Regions from separate parts of the Homo sapiens genome. Here all the other regions are linked to region 4. The links are contacts of gene promoters, found by promoter capture Hi-C in blood cells and fetal thymus (Javierre and others, 2016). All regions are on one chromosome and are shown on one strand. The core of a region is centred on a gene start or on the middle of the fragment in contact, and the rest is flanking DNA. Distances in the headings are between cores, read along the strand shown.

Evidence for each region. Contacts are between HindIII fragments. The CHiCAGO score rates a contact against its expected background, and 5 or more counts as called.
Region 1: a contact is called between a fragment that was not itself captured here and the fragment with the promoter of EPM2AIP1 in region 4, in 6 of 17 cell types (M2 macrophages, M0 macrophages, M1 macrophages and 3 more). The highest score is 15.7, in M2 macrophages.
Region 2: a contact is called between a fragment that was not itself captured here and the fragment with the promoter of EPM2AIP1 in region 4, in 12 of 17 cell types (M2 macrophages, M1 macrophages, M0 macrophages and 9 more). The highest score is 34.7, in M2 macrophages.
Region 3: a fragment that was not itself captured here is called in contact with the fragment with the promoter of EPM2AIP1 in region 4 in 5 of 17 cell types (M2 macrophages, M1 macrophages, M0 macrophages and 2 more); the score reaches 13.6 in M2 macrophages.

What each region holds. Positions count from the first base shown.
Region 1 is chr3:33,659,108-33,662,413 of GRCh38, forward strand. The region is part of intron 7 of CLASP2 (cytoplasmic linker associated protein 2); the gene reads right to left. Among named protein-coding and RNA genes, the nearest start is that of CLASP2, 57 kb to the right of the region's middle. RefSeq lists an enhancer at 260-309. The HindIII fragment of the contact is 1,973 bases long and covers 575-2,547 here.
Region 2 is chr3:33,799,962-33,803,452 of GRCh38, forward strand. The region is part of intron 1 of PDCD6IP (programmed cell death 6 interacting protein); the gene reads left to right. Among named protein-coding and RNA genes, the nearest start is that of PDCD6IP, 3.1 kb to the left of the region's middle. The HindIII fragment of the contact is 732 bases long and covers 1,161-1,892 here.
Region 3 is chr3:33,817,691-33,821,051 of GRCh38, forward strand. The region is part of intron 3 of PDCD6IP (programmed cell death 6 interacting protein); the gene reads left to right. Among named protein-coding and RNA genes, the nearest start is that of PDCD6IP, 21 kb to the left of the region's middle. The HindIII fragment of the contact is 5,968 bases long and covers 1-3,361 here.
Region 4 is chr3:36,991,371-36,994,888 of GRCh38, forward strand. EPM2AIP1 (EPM2A interacting protein 1) reads right to left here and starts at 1,761. Exons shown (of 1, transcript NM_014805.4): 1 at 1-1,761. The coding sequence starts at 1,707. MLH1 (mutL homolog 1) reads left to right here and starts at 2,148. Exons shown (of 19, transcript NM_000249.4): 1 at 2,148-2,293. The coding sequence starts at 2,178. RefSeq lists enhancers at 932-1,011, 1,042-1,361, 1,482-1,831, 2,202-2,421, 2,338-2,849. The HindIII fragment of the contact is 4,668 bases long and covers 1-2,632 here.

The sequences.
Region 1 (3,306 bases), core at 311-2,810, 3.3 Mb before region 4:
GACCCAGGCCTCGCTGCAGCTCTGCACCGCAATAGCCAACAGCTGCTACTCCACTTCAAAATAAAAGTCTGGGGTCTTGCTGAAAACCCTCGTTTATTTAGCACAGCCTAGAAGGACTTGATTAAGATTACTCTTTAGCTGCACATATGCTGTTGGATACAGGTTATGATGTTTCTCCTTGTACTGGCTGCCTGAAATTTAATCTAAGAAAAGCTCTGAGAGCCAATAAATGCCATCCCGCTGGGGGACTTTTAATGCAATCATCAAAACACAAGGCATGTGTTCAGCAATCATTTTCTGCTTCCCTAAAGATATCCATGTAATCAGTAGCAATCACATGATCTGATGGATTAACTGATTTGCGCCTTTTTAAAAAGGTTTTCATCCTTTTGTCGTTACCTTTTAATATTTACAACAGAAGATTGCTAGAAGTGCATAAACAGGAATAGCCCAGTTTCCATGATTAACTGCTCTCATTATGCAGGAAGCATTTCTGGCTGCCGTAAACAAATCACGTCAAAGGCAGCCCATCAAAGGCTGCTCTGTGCGCGGACAGCAGGGCCACACGGAACAAAGCTTACTTCTGGTGGAGACAGAACCTAGCCAATGCGCAGCTGCAGGGGCGCAGAGCACCCTCTATCCAAGCTGACAACCATCAGCACATTGTCAAGCTCTGAAGGCAGGCCCTGGAGCTCATGATCACAAACAGATACATTTTAAAAATCAACCAAAGAAAAGAGCTGCTTTGCTTTTCACCAAAGGGTATGTTATAAAAATATACAAAACTAGACTGGAAGTTATCTTATTGACTCATAGAAGCCAAATATTAAGGTAATTTCAAAGCCTCATTTCCAGGTTTTATTTTATTGCCAGCCTCCAAGAACAATTCTTTTCCTAGCAACTGTTTCAAACAGAGAAGCCAGAAAATACTTTACTAATGATTGCATGGCCAAGACTGCATTAGGTCCTAAACACACACTCGACAAATAAGAATTATGCATAGTTTTTTTCACAGTGAAAGAGAAAAGGATTTGCAATTACAGCCACCAACACTGTTAGTGTTTACATCCTTGGTTTGTGCAGGAGACTGTCTAGAAAGCTCCATAACGACACCAGCGCCTGCCATAATCGCAGGGGGTCTCCAACTTTCAGTCTTTTCTTTCCTACAGGGCTGGTGTTCCCTCCTTCTAGTCACGATCTGACAGATTTTAAATCCAGTTTTCTTCTAACAGCAGAGCTAATTCTACTGCATTTAGGGACTCTGCCTAACTTACTTTTACAATATAACAAGTTGAGTTCAAAAAACCATCAAATACTCTATAACTCACTTAATGACTGTTCAGATGACAACTTTTAGCTATAAAAAAGTTATATCACCTTTACAACAAATCCTTTGGTTTCTTGTATTTAGTAAAATGATTTTTTTCATCACGAAACACTCTAAATCAATATGCTGTAAGATGTATGATGTGTCATTATTATGGTTTCAGGCAAAGACACACCAAAAAATTTTGTTTACCATAATAGTTTCTGGTCACAGAATATCAGGTGGAACAAATTTGAATTGCGTGCCATTTTTGGACAGACCCAAAACAATTTATTTTGCATAAATGCACCAAGTGAGGGAGAGAAAAGGTAGTATCTTCAACAGCTCTTTGTGTGCATGAACTATTTCCACAAGATTTCATGCCGAGCCTTTACTCTGTCCTAAAATGTTTTCCTGTTTCTATCACTTTATTTACAGTTTTAGTTTTAGTTTTAGTGTGCAATAAAAATGAATCAACAAAGGCCTGAAAATTTTGTGGGGAAAAATTGTGCAGAAATAAAGAAGAAGTTGAATTAAACTCCATGATATTACTTCATGTACAATTTCCCTTCAAATTGTTACTTATAAAAATTTGTTTTCAGTATTCAATTGATATATTTTTCTACCTGGGAAAACTACTCAAGTATCATGGGCTGGGATGAAACACACCGTAATTTTTCTCATTAACACTGGTGAAAATAATTTTTTCATCTAATGGTCTTTCACTTGGCAGCAGGGTATTTAGGAATAATTTAAACTCATTAAACAAGGAGTAGTTATATTTCCTCCATTACCAACTGTAACCACATTGTATATCCATTTATTTACTTGTTTATGATCTATCTCCATCACTAGATTATAGGCTCCTTAAGGGGAGAAATTTCATTATCTTCTTCCTGTTGTGACATGATCTAATTTACATTTTAAGAAGATCCCTATGATTTCTGAGTAGCAAATGGATTCCTGGGGGCAAACATGGAACAGAAGTCTACAGAAGTAGTCCAGGCAAAAGCTAAAGGAGATTTAGAGAGGATATTAGCAGTGGAGATGGAAAAAATAAGCAAATTTGGGATATGTTAGTATTTCAGAAGTAGAAATGTTTGATCAGTTAGAATAGGAAATCAAGTCAGGTTTCTAGCTTGAGCTGATGATGGTGCCACTGACTAAAATGGCTAAGACTGGAGAAGGAACAGATCTGAGAGGCAAGAAAAGATAACAGGGTTTCATTTTTGGACATAGGAAGCTTGAAATGCCTATTAGGCAGCCAAATGGGAACGTCATCAAGGCCACAGGCTAACAAGTCTAGACCTAACCCAAAGGAGAGATGAATGATGGCTAGACCTACATACTGGGAATCATTAGCAAAGAGTTATCATTTAAAGCCTTTGAGTGGGGTTGGATCACTAAGAAAGAGAGAATAAAAACAGGGAAGAGGAGGCCTGGGCCCTGGGATTTTCCAACGTGATAAATAGGTTTCCTTCTTCTAGCATCCTCTTGTTAATTAATTCATTAAGGAATTTTTCAGTGACAGCATATTATCATCAAAAACATTATGACCAATATGACTTTAACTTTCACATTTGACCATACTTGCAATATTCAGACTGTAATCATCAATGCAAACAATCTTTGAAGTCTTCTTCAAAAAAAATAAATGCCAGAGACTAACTCCGAACCTCCCTGTTTATGGAGTGATAAACAAGAGAAAAAGTAATGGGAACTAAAGAAACAAAAAAGCTCTATTTTGAAGGTAACAGAAATAATGTCACAAAATACAAGAATAACAGTGCTTTCGAAATAAACCATACCCAAGCAATGAATACCTTAGATTTTATAGGTATTCTACTTTTTTCCTTAGAGTTGTAACTAACTTAGTCTGAAATACACAAACGATCATGTTATGAAAACACACAAGTTCAAGCATCTTGTCAAATCTCTTCCTACTGTTTCTGGTTTCTACAGAAATTGACAGAGGTAACTGCTAGAAAAATAAGGAGAAG
Region 2 (3,491 bases), core at 277-2,776, 3.2 Mb before region 4:
TACAACAAATTAGCCGGGCGTGGTGGCGGGTGCCTGTAGTCCCAGCTACTCGGGAGGCTGAGGCAGGAGAATGGTGTGAACCTGGGAGACGGAGCTTGCAGTGAGCCGAGATCGCGCCACTGCACTCCAGCCTGGGCGACAGAGTGAGACTCCATCTCAAAAAAAAAAAAAAAAAAAAAAAAAAGTAAGACTTATTCTGCTAACTGAAAAGTCTAGGGATATTCCTTCCTTAGCTTTAGGTATCACTGGAGATCGTCTTGCCTCCGTGATGCTTCCCTCGAAAGCTTTGTTCATGTATTGAGAGGGATGGCTGTAGTGTAATAACAATCGTCCGCAACACTCAGTATCTTACAGAAGGGAGTGCTTTTCTCCTTAGCTCTGGTGGAAGTCCATGGGAGGCTCCTGGGTTTGTTTGCACCCATTTATGATGGTGGGAAATGGGCTAAGTTAATTGCCCTTATCTGAGTCATCCAGCCGGTTTAATTTCTCCTTACCCCATGGATCAAAGCAAGATGAGTCCGGACTGGGGAAGGGTTGGTTCTCCGAAGGAAGGGGTACTGAATAGATTGCTCAGAGGAATTAAGACCCCTTGGTGTCAAATTTTAGAGCTACAACTGTTGGGCTGCAAGGATCATTAGTCTAATAGCATAAGCATTTTTTTTAAAGTTAACCTAGAAATACTTAGCCATTCTTTAGAATTAACATAATTAAACAATTTCAAGGTAATTTTTATGTAGGCATGAATAGCATTCAGTGAGGATTTTCCATTAGTAATATTAAGAAAACATAGTTGTGGTATAATGAGCCCTGTGATAAAAATCTTGTTGAATATATCAAATTTGGTTCCAGCCCTCAGATTTGGGGTCTTCAGAAGCACTTGGTGCATGGGTTTTAAGCTAACAGACATGGGAGGTTGGTGGATAATGGTTTGGATACGGTTCTCCTGTCAACTTTAAAACTTAATTCATTTGTTCCTTCCTTTATTCTTTTTACCAGACTTAAATGTGTGAACTGTTCCTAGGTAGTGGACCTGTTGTAGATATAGTCTCTTTGAAACTAACCATGTTTCTTTAGTCACCTCTGTATAATCCCCTCCTGCCACATTAATTCAACAAATATTAAGTATTTTCACTTTTTGGGCTTCTAGAGGGGTTAGGGTAAGCTTGGAGATATTACTAAAGTTTATAATGGAGGTAGGTACAAAAGTTTTGTAGGTATATACGCTGTAAAATTAGATGTGAATCAGTTGTGTGATGTTCATTCAAATCCGGCAGAATATCTTATTTTTAATAATTATGTTTGGATAATTGTGTAAACTTAACATTAATTTTTTAACTTAATGAACTTTTTAAACTAATGAACTTTGAAAAACAGAGTTTAAACTAATTCCTAAATAATTGAAGCCAGCTTGATAAGTCCTGATATGCAGCTCCATATATTGCTCCAGTGATAGACTTGTTTTCTTATTACTAACTTGTAGGTGTTCTATTAAAATTTCCTAAAATATACATTTATGCATATTATAATAATGAGAATGAGTACTTAAAAACTCATTTGTTCTGGGTGTGGTAGCATGCACTCATAATTCCAGCTGAGGCAGAAGGATCACTAGAGCCCACGAGTTGGAGACCAGCCTGAACTACATACTGAGACGCTGTCTCAAAACAAAACAAAACAACAACAACAAAAAACCCTTTTATATGATACTTCTTCCTTTATAAAGTGGCTTTTACTAAAAATTGATTAGACCTTGGTAAATGGTGACCTAGGGTGATCAAATGGGAACCCTGCTGGTTTTTTATTTTTATTTTGTATTTTATTTGAAGCTCCAGATATACCATTTACCAGCATTGTGTAATTTCTTTTGTGGTGATCAGTTTCTTTAGAGAGAAAGCTTCTAGTCTTCCATGAAAAAGTCTGCTTATCAGCTTTCTAAATTTTATCCTGGGGAATGGAGGTTGGGGATCTTAACAATCATGTATGCAGTCTATCAGGTACATCTATTTTTAGTATGACACCTGCATTAGGGTTAGGTTCATTTCTGTGTGGTAGATCCCAAATTATCTGAGTTAAGATTTTATTTTGTAAAAAGTTGGCAGGTAGGTAGTTCTGGTAGCCCAGGGCTGGTGTAGTGTTTCTGTGGAGTTAATTGGGGCTCAGATTCCTTTCAGCTTTCTGCTGTTTGAAACCTAGAATATTGTTCTCAGGTCCAGGTTGCAATCATATCCAAGTTCCAGGTAGTAGGATGGAGAAAGGCACGGGGCTCGCCCTTTAGGGTGTTTCCTGGCAACTGTTCCACAACACCCTGCCTATATGTTACCGGCCATTTTGTGTGTCCTTCTGATAGGATGCTAGGAAAAGGAATTTTCATTATGAGCAGCTGTATACTCAGCTAAAGGGACACAGTTTTGTTAATAAGGAATAGGATAGACTGATAATGATGTAGTCAATTAGCACTCCCTACCCCACTTAGCAGTGCTTGATCTCCACCTTAGTTATATTTGATATCTCTGACATTTTTTTCTTTTTTCTTTTTTTTTTTTTTGAGGTGGAGTTTTGCTCTTGTTACCCAGGCTGGAGTGCAGTGGCATGATCTCGGCTCACCACAACCTCCGCCTCTCGGGTTCAAACGATTCTCCTGCCTCAGCCTCCTGAGTAGCTGGGATTTACAGGCATGAACCACTCTGCCTGGCTAATTTTGTATTTTTGGTAGAGACGGGCTTTCTCCATGTTGGTCAGGCTGGTCTGGAACTCCTGACCTCGGGTGATCCACCCGCCTCGGCCTCCCAAAGTGCTGGGATTACAGGCGTGAGCCACTGTGCCCGGCCAATCTCTGACGTTTTTTTGAGAGTGAACCTACCTTCAGAGTAGAGGATCTGGGAGCCTGAAGTTTTCTTTGAAGGATTTTCAACCATACCTTCTCGTTCCAGCCTCACATTGAACTACCTTCAGAGGTACCTCATGTTTCTTAATTCAGATCCTTTTCTGGCTTCTCTGGCATGATTTGGCTTCTGCTTTGGCTCCCTTCCCTCTTAGCCAGTTAGATTTTGGCTTTCTCTTTTTCATTCACTTTTCACCTTTTAGTAAATTTTGTTGAAACCTCTTATATCCTGTGTGTCATTTCCCGTTCTTTTTGTCCATGTTCATGTACATCTTTTACATTTTTAAATTCTTGTTTTAGTGGGTTTTGGCGGGGAGCAAAGAAGGATGTTTATTCAGATTTATTTGTTTAACTGTAAGAGGAACTTGTTTGCATTTTCAGCTCTCCACAGTGCTTGTAACAATTTACATTCTCATCAGCAGGTATATGGGAGTACTTTATTCTTCCATATCCTTGCTAATACGTACTGATTAATAATTTAATTTATTGCTTTTTGCTAAACTGATGGGTGAGAGATAGTACCTTTAGTTTGCATTCCTCTTATTTTACTGAGGTTGAACAGTTTTTGTTTACTGGCCACTTTGTTTCTTTTTCTGTGATTGCTTGTTCT
Region 3 (3,361 bases), core at 39-2,538, 3.2 Mb before region 4:
TGCAATAAGCCATGATCACGCCACTGTACTTCAGCCTGGGTGACAGAGTGACACCTTGTCTCAAAAGAAAAAAAAAAGATAAAAGAAAAACTTAAAAGAGAGCAAGTAAGAAACAAGAATACAGTTAAATACTTAGAAAGGCATCTTTGAAAAAAAGGAAAATTAAATATTGTTTTGAAAACCTGGTTTAAGTTTAGATGGATAGAAAAAAATAAAGGAAAAAAAGATAAAATAGCTCTTATATGTAAAATCTCATAAAAGCTCTTATACATGACAAATTGTCAAAATAAAATGAGAGACTACAGTCTGGTATGATAATATTTATGGGCAACATAATAGACTGAGATATGTATCCAATATATAAACAGTTTACTTTTATTTCTTGTTTGGAATATATTTCATTCTTGTTTTTTTTTTTTTTTTTTTTTTTTGGAGAACAGTCTTGCTCTGTTGCCCAGGGTGGATGGAGGGCAGTGGCATGATCTCGGCTTACTGCAACCTCTGCCTCTGAGGTTCAAGTGATTCTCGTGCCACAGCCTCCTGAGTAGCTGGGATTACAAGCATGCACCACCACGCCTGGCGAATTTTTGTATTTTTAGTAGAGACGGGGTTTCACCATGTTGGCCAGGCTGGTCTCGAACTCCTGACCTCAAGAGCTCCGCCCACCTTGCCTTCCCAAAGTGCTGGGATTACAGGTGTGAGCCACCACGCCTGGCTGATATTTAATTTTGTTCCTTGCTCTCTCCTGCCACACTGGCCTAATGTATATATTTATTGAATTAATTAAAATTATATTCAGAACTTGAAGATATTGATCCCTTGCTTTTTTTTTTTTTTTTTTTTTTTTGATAGGGAGTCTCACTCTGACGCTAGGCTGGAGTGCAGTGGCACGATCTCGGCTCACTGCAACCTCCGCCTCCAAGGTTCAAGCGATTATCCTGCGTCAGCTTTCCGAGTAGCTGGGACTACAGGTGTGCGCCACCACGTCCAGCTAATTTTTGTACTTTTAATAGAGACAGGGTTTCACCATGTTGGCCAGAATGGTCTTGTTCTCTTGACCTCGTGATCTGTCCGCCTCAGCCTCCCAAAGTGCTGAGATTACAGGCGTGAGCCACTGCACCTGGCCAATCCCTTGCCTTTTAGTATCTAGTGTTACTGATGAAAAGTCTGATTTTTGTTATTTTATAAGTGATCTGTTTCTTTGCTCTTGGGAATATTTTTACAGTCTTCTCTTTATCTTTCATGTTTAGAAATCTCAAAAGACTTAATGGGATTTCATTTTATTCGTGTGTAGGGCATTTCTTTTTGGCCCTTTTAGTTTGAACACTTATATCTCCCTTAAGCTCTGGGAAGTTTTCTTATATTTCTTTGATAATTTTCTTGTCTCTTTTGTCTCTCTTTCTTTGGAATACTTTATTAGATGTTGGTTGTTCTGAGTTGTTCACTCGTAATTTTTATATTTTTTCTTGACTTTCTGTTCTTTCTGAGATTGCCTAGATATTAATTTTAAAACTTGAAAAAAAATTTTTTTTCCTTCCTCCGCCCTTAAAACTTTTGAAAAAAATTTAACAATCAAGTTTTTAATTTTTAGGAGCTTTGTCTTATTAATTTAAAAAATCCTTTTCTTTTATGGATGTACTGTCTTTGAATCTCTTTAAGGAATGCTAATTGTGATATTTGGAATATAATCTTTTATGACTGGAATTGTCTTTATTTATTTTGGGCTTAGTTTTTCAGTTCGCATTGCTCTTCCTTTATTTTGCTGCAGGCTTTTTTCACAACCTGGTTATTTTGGATTTTCCATATGTTTAATAAAGTAGGTTAGAGTAGCTGGTGTTTATGTCTGCTTTAGTTTAGAATGAGGAGACTAGAACTGGTTTGGAAGCAAGTTGAAAACTGGCCTTTATTACCTAGGAGGCCACCAAAGTACTGTAACAAGGAGGGCTTTACTTTATGGTACAACTCTGTGGCACAAACATACAAATGTAGTGTTGTTCTGATTCTCCTAGATTGGTTTGTTCAGTGTTTTTTGTAAGGAGCCTTATTTTGCCTAGTGGTCAATGCCTTGCACATTATGCAAGATCTTGAATTCCAAACTGATTGAATTCTGTGAGTAATAGGGAGCTATTGTAGATTCTTTTTTAAAAGTTATTTTTCAATTGTGATACAATATACACAATATGCCTTCTTAACCATTTTAAGTGTACACTTCAGTGGTATTAAGTACATTTACATTATTGTGCAAACATCATCTCGAGAACTCTTTTTCATCTTACAAAACAAACTCTGCCCAGTAAATGATAACTTCACAGACTGGGGGCGGTGGCTTATGCCTGTAATCCCAGCATTTTGGGAGGCCGAGGTGGGAGGATTGCTTGAACCAACGAGTTCAAGACCAGCCTAGGCAACATAGTGAGTCCCTGTCTCTACAAAAGATACAAAAATTAGCCGGGTATGGTGGCCTGTGCCTGTAGTCCCAGCTACTCAGGAGGCTGAGGCAGGAGGATTGATTGAGTCCAAGAGGTAGAGGCTGCAATGGGTGTGATTGCACTAGTGCACTCCAGCCTGGGTGAGAGAATGAGACCCTGTCTCAAAAGAAAAAAACAATTATAATGTCCCATTCTTCCCTCCCCCCTCAACCCTTGGCAACTAGCATTCTTTCAGTCTCTGAATTAAACTGTAGGTACCTCATACAAGTAGAGTCGTAGACTGCATTTAAAAAAAATTTCACAACATGAAATTTATTATCTTAATCATTTTTAAGTATACAGTTCACTAGTGTTGGGTGTATTTCATATTGTTGTAAAATACATCTCCAGAACTTTTTCATCTAGCAAATCTGAAATATTGTACTAATTGAACAACAATCCCCCTCCCCCTACCACCATCCCTGATAACCATCATTCTGATTTCTGTCTCTATGAATTTGATTACTCTAGGTAACTCATATAAGTGGAATCATACAATATTTGTCTTTTTGTGACTGACATTTCATTTAGCTTAATGTCCTCAAGATTCATCCGTGTTATAGCATATGATTTCCTTCTTGTTCAAGGCTCACTAATATTCCATTGTATGTATATACCACATTTTGTTTATATATTCATCAGATCACAGACACTTGGGTTGCTTTCATGTTTGGCTTTGTGAATAATGCTGCTATGAACATGGGCATACGTATATCTCTTTGAGACTCTGCTTTCATTTTTTTGGGGGTGTATACTCAAAAGTGGAATTGCTGGATAAAATAGCAATTCTATTTTTAATATTTTGAGGACCTGCCATATTGTTTTCCACAGCAGTTGTACTTTTTCTAATTTTTATTTTTTATTTTGAGACAGGGTCTTGCTCTGACGCTCAG
Region 4 (3,518 bases), core at 511-3,010:
GTGTTGGTTTCGAGTCAAATATGAAAAAGCCTTTTCACAGATTTGGTTACTATCAAACAAGGATGCCACCTTACAGGCAACCCCTTTGATAATTGGGTAGGATTCAGCAGACAATCCAGCATAAAACTGCCCCAAGTCTTTGATTCTGTATTCATTCCAAAGATTAGTGTTTGCCTGAAGTTTTGTTAGCTCCACCCTCACTGAAATAGGTGCATATTCAGGTTTAAAGTTAAATGGATTTGAAAAAAGTTCTAAGTCCTTTTTAATGAACCTGAGGTCCTTAAAATGTCTCTCAAATTCTTTTTGGAGACGACAGATCACCATTTGATACCTATCAGGATCAAATATTTTTTCATCTTCCTTATTTTGCTGTTTTAGCTCATCAACAACTTCTCTGAGGGCAGGAAAGTCTGTTAGATTTTTTTCCTCAATATGTCTTTGAAATAAATTCAGCTTAACTTCGAAAGTACAAATATGGTCAAAGGCAGCAGCAGCAAAGACTTTACTAACTCGTAATTCTTCACTGAGTTCTCGAAGGTGTTCCATAATGTCCACCAAGAAGCCAAAGTCACAAAGCCATTGTTTGTCTGAGAAGTGGACTGTTGTTGCCCCTACTGAAACCAAGAACGCTTCCATTTCTTTTCTTAGAGAGAATATTAGTTTTAAAGTTTTCCCTCTCCTAAGCCAATTGTTCAGACATCGTCCATTAACCCTTTCACCATGCTCTGATTCAGATTCCGTTAGTAAAGTCTGAAATTCAGGTCGCCTAACGCCTCTGGTCTTAATCAAAACTATCCATTCGGATATGGTATTTATGATCTGATTAACATCTACATCATAGGAGCTCAACAGTTCCAAGTGAAGAAATCCTGAATAATGAATGACATTCCAACAGTTGGGGCTTACGGCCTTTTCTCTCATGTATGAGACGAGTCCTGAGTTCTCACCAATCATCCTCAAAGTATGGGTCGTGGTCAGTCCAACCATTCTCTGCAAGCTAAGCCCTGCTGTCTGCAGGGACTCTAGGATTGCCGACATGAGCGCACCAACACTGAAATGATGAGTCAGGTTGATTATGGTCAGAAGATCTTCTTGCACCTCCAACTCAGGGCCTACACCGCGGATAAAGACCAGGAGGTAGTTCTCATAGGCCACAAAAGCCTGGTCGTCCAAGGCAAGAGAATAGGCTTTAAAGTCCCTGGCTCGGTTAAAAAGCTGGTTGCGTAGATTCCTGTCAATGCTCAGGATCCTCTGCCTTGTGATATCTGGAGATAAGTCAACGCCTTGCAGGACGCTTACATGCTCGGGCAGTACCTCTCTCAGCAACACCTCCATGCACTGGTATACAAAGTCCCCCTCACCCCAGCCGCGACCCTTCAAGGCCAAGAGGCGGCAGAGCCCGAGGCCTGCACGAGCAGCTCTCTCTTCAGGAGTGAAGGAGGCCACGGGCAAGTCGCCCTGACGCAGACGCTCCACCAGGGCCGCGCGCTCGCCGTCCGCCACATACCGCTCGTAGTATTCGTGCTCAGCCTCGTAGTGGCGCCTGACGTCGCGTTCGCGGGTAGCTACGATGAGGCGGCGACAGACCAGGCACAGGGCCCCATCGCCCTCCGGAGGCTCCACCACCAAATAACGCTGGGTCCACTCGGGCCGGAAAACTAGAGCCTCGTCGACTTCCATCTTGCTTCTTTTGGGCGTCATCCACATTCTGCGGGAGGCCACAAGAGCAGGGCCAACGTTAGAAAGGCCGCAAGGGGAGAGGAGGAGCCTGAGAAGCGCCAAGCACCTCCTCCGCTCTGCGCCAGATCACCTCAGCAGAGGCACACAAGCCCGGTTCCGGCATCTCTGCTCCTATTGGCTGGATATTTCGTATTCCCCGAGCTCCTAAAAACGAACCAATAGGAAGAGCGGACAGCGATCTCTAACGCGCAAGCGCATATCCTTCTAGGTAGCGGGCAGTAGCCGCTTCAGGGAGGGACGAAGAGACCCAGCAACCCACAGAGTTGAGAAATTTGACTGGCATTCAAGCTGTCCAATCAATAGCTGCCGCTGAAGGGTGGGGCTGGATGGCGTAAGCTACAGCTGAAGGAAGAACGTGAGCACGAGGCACTGAGGTGATTGGCTGAAGGCACTTCCGTTGAGCATCTAGACGTTTCCTTGGCTCTTCTGGCGCCAAAATGTCGTTCGTGGCAGGGGTTATTCGGCGGCTGGACGAGACAGTGGTGAACCGCATCGCGGCGGGGGAAGTTATCCAGCGGCCAGCTAATGCTATCAAAGAGATGATTGAGAACTGGTACGGAGGGAGTCGAGCCGGGCTCACTTAAGGGCTACGACTTAACGGGCCGCGTCACTCAATGGCGCGGACACGCCTCTTTGCCCGGGCAGAGGCATGTACAGCGCATGCCCACAACGGCGGAGGCCGCCGGGTTCCCTGACGTGCCAGTCAGGCCTTCTCCTTTTCCGCAGACCGTGTGTTTCTTTACCGCTCTCCCCCGAGACCTTTTAAGGGTTGTTTGGAGTGTAAGTGGAGGAATATACGTAGTGTTGTCTTAATGGTACCGTTAACTAAGTAAGGAAGCCACTTAATTTAAAATTATGTATGCAGAACATGCGAAGTTAAAAGATGTATAAAAGCTTAAGATGGGGAGAAAAACCTTTTTTCAGAGGGTACTGTGTTACTGTTTTCTTGCTTTTCATTCATTCCAGAAATCATCTGTTCACATCCAAAGGCACAATTCATTTTGAGTTTCTTTCAAAACAAATCGTTTGTAGTTTTAGGACAGGCTGATGCACTTTGGGCTTGACTTCTGATTACCCTATTGTTAAATTAGTGACCCCTCTTAGTGTTTTCCTGTCCTTTATTTCGGAGGACGCACTTCGAAGATACCAGATTTTATGGGTCATCCTTGGATTTTGAAGCTTATAACTGTGACAAAAAATGTGAAGGGAAGAGATTTGAAACATGTGGAAGGAAAAGTGAGTGCAGACTATAAACTTCCAAAAAGACAAGCCCAAAATACACCTAAACGTTATGTCAGATTATTTTGTTAAAATCAGTTGTTAGTGACGTCCGTACGTTAATAGAAAAAAGAATGCTTCAGTTTGGAGTGGTAGGTTTCTAGAGGGATTTATTGTGAAAGTATAAACTATTCAGGGCAATGGGACTGAGAGAACAGTGGGTAGAAAGGACCACTGAAGGAAAGGAAGAGAATTGGAAGGTAGATGAAAGAAGGAGCAAGAACCTGGGGATGTTTTTTCCTTTTCACTTGTAATAGTAGTAACAGAAGCAATGGCAGACTGGCTTTTGTTTCTACTGTGTTAGAATGAATTGACAGGACAACTGGGCCTATTATTGTACTGTGCCAGAATACTGTAAAACAAAACTAAACATACTAGCTTGGTGGCTTGTAATTAATTACTTAAGTGGAGATTTTTATTTTTTTTTTATTTTTTTTTTAGACGGAGTCTCACTTTGTCACCCAGGCTGGAGTGCAGTGGCGCGATCTCAGCTGACTGCA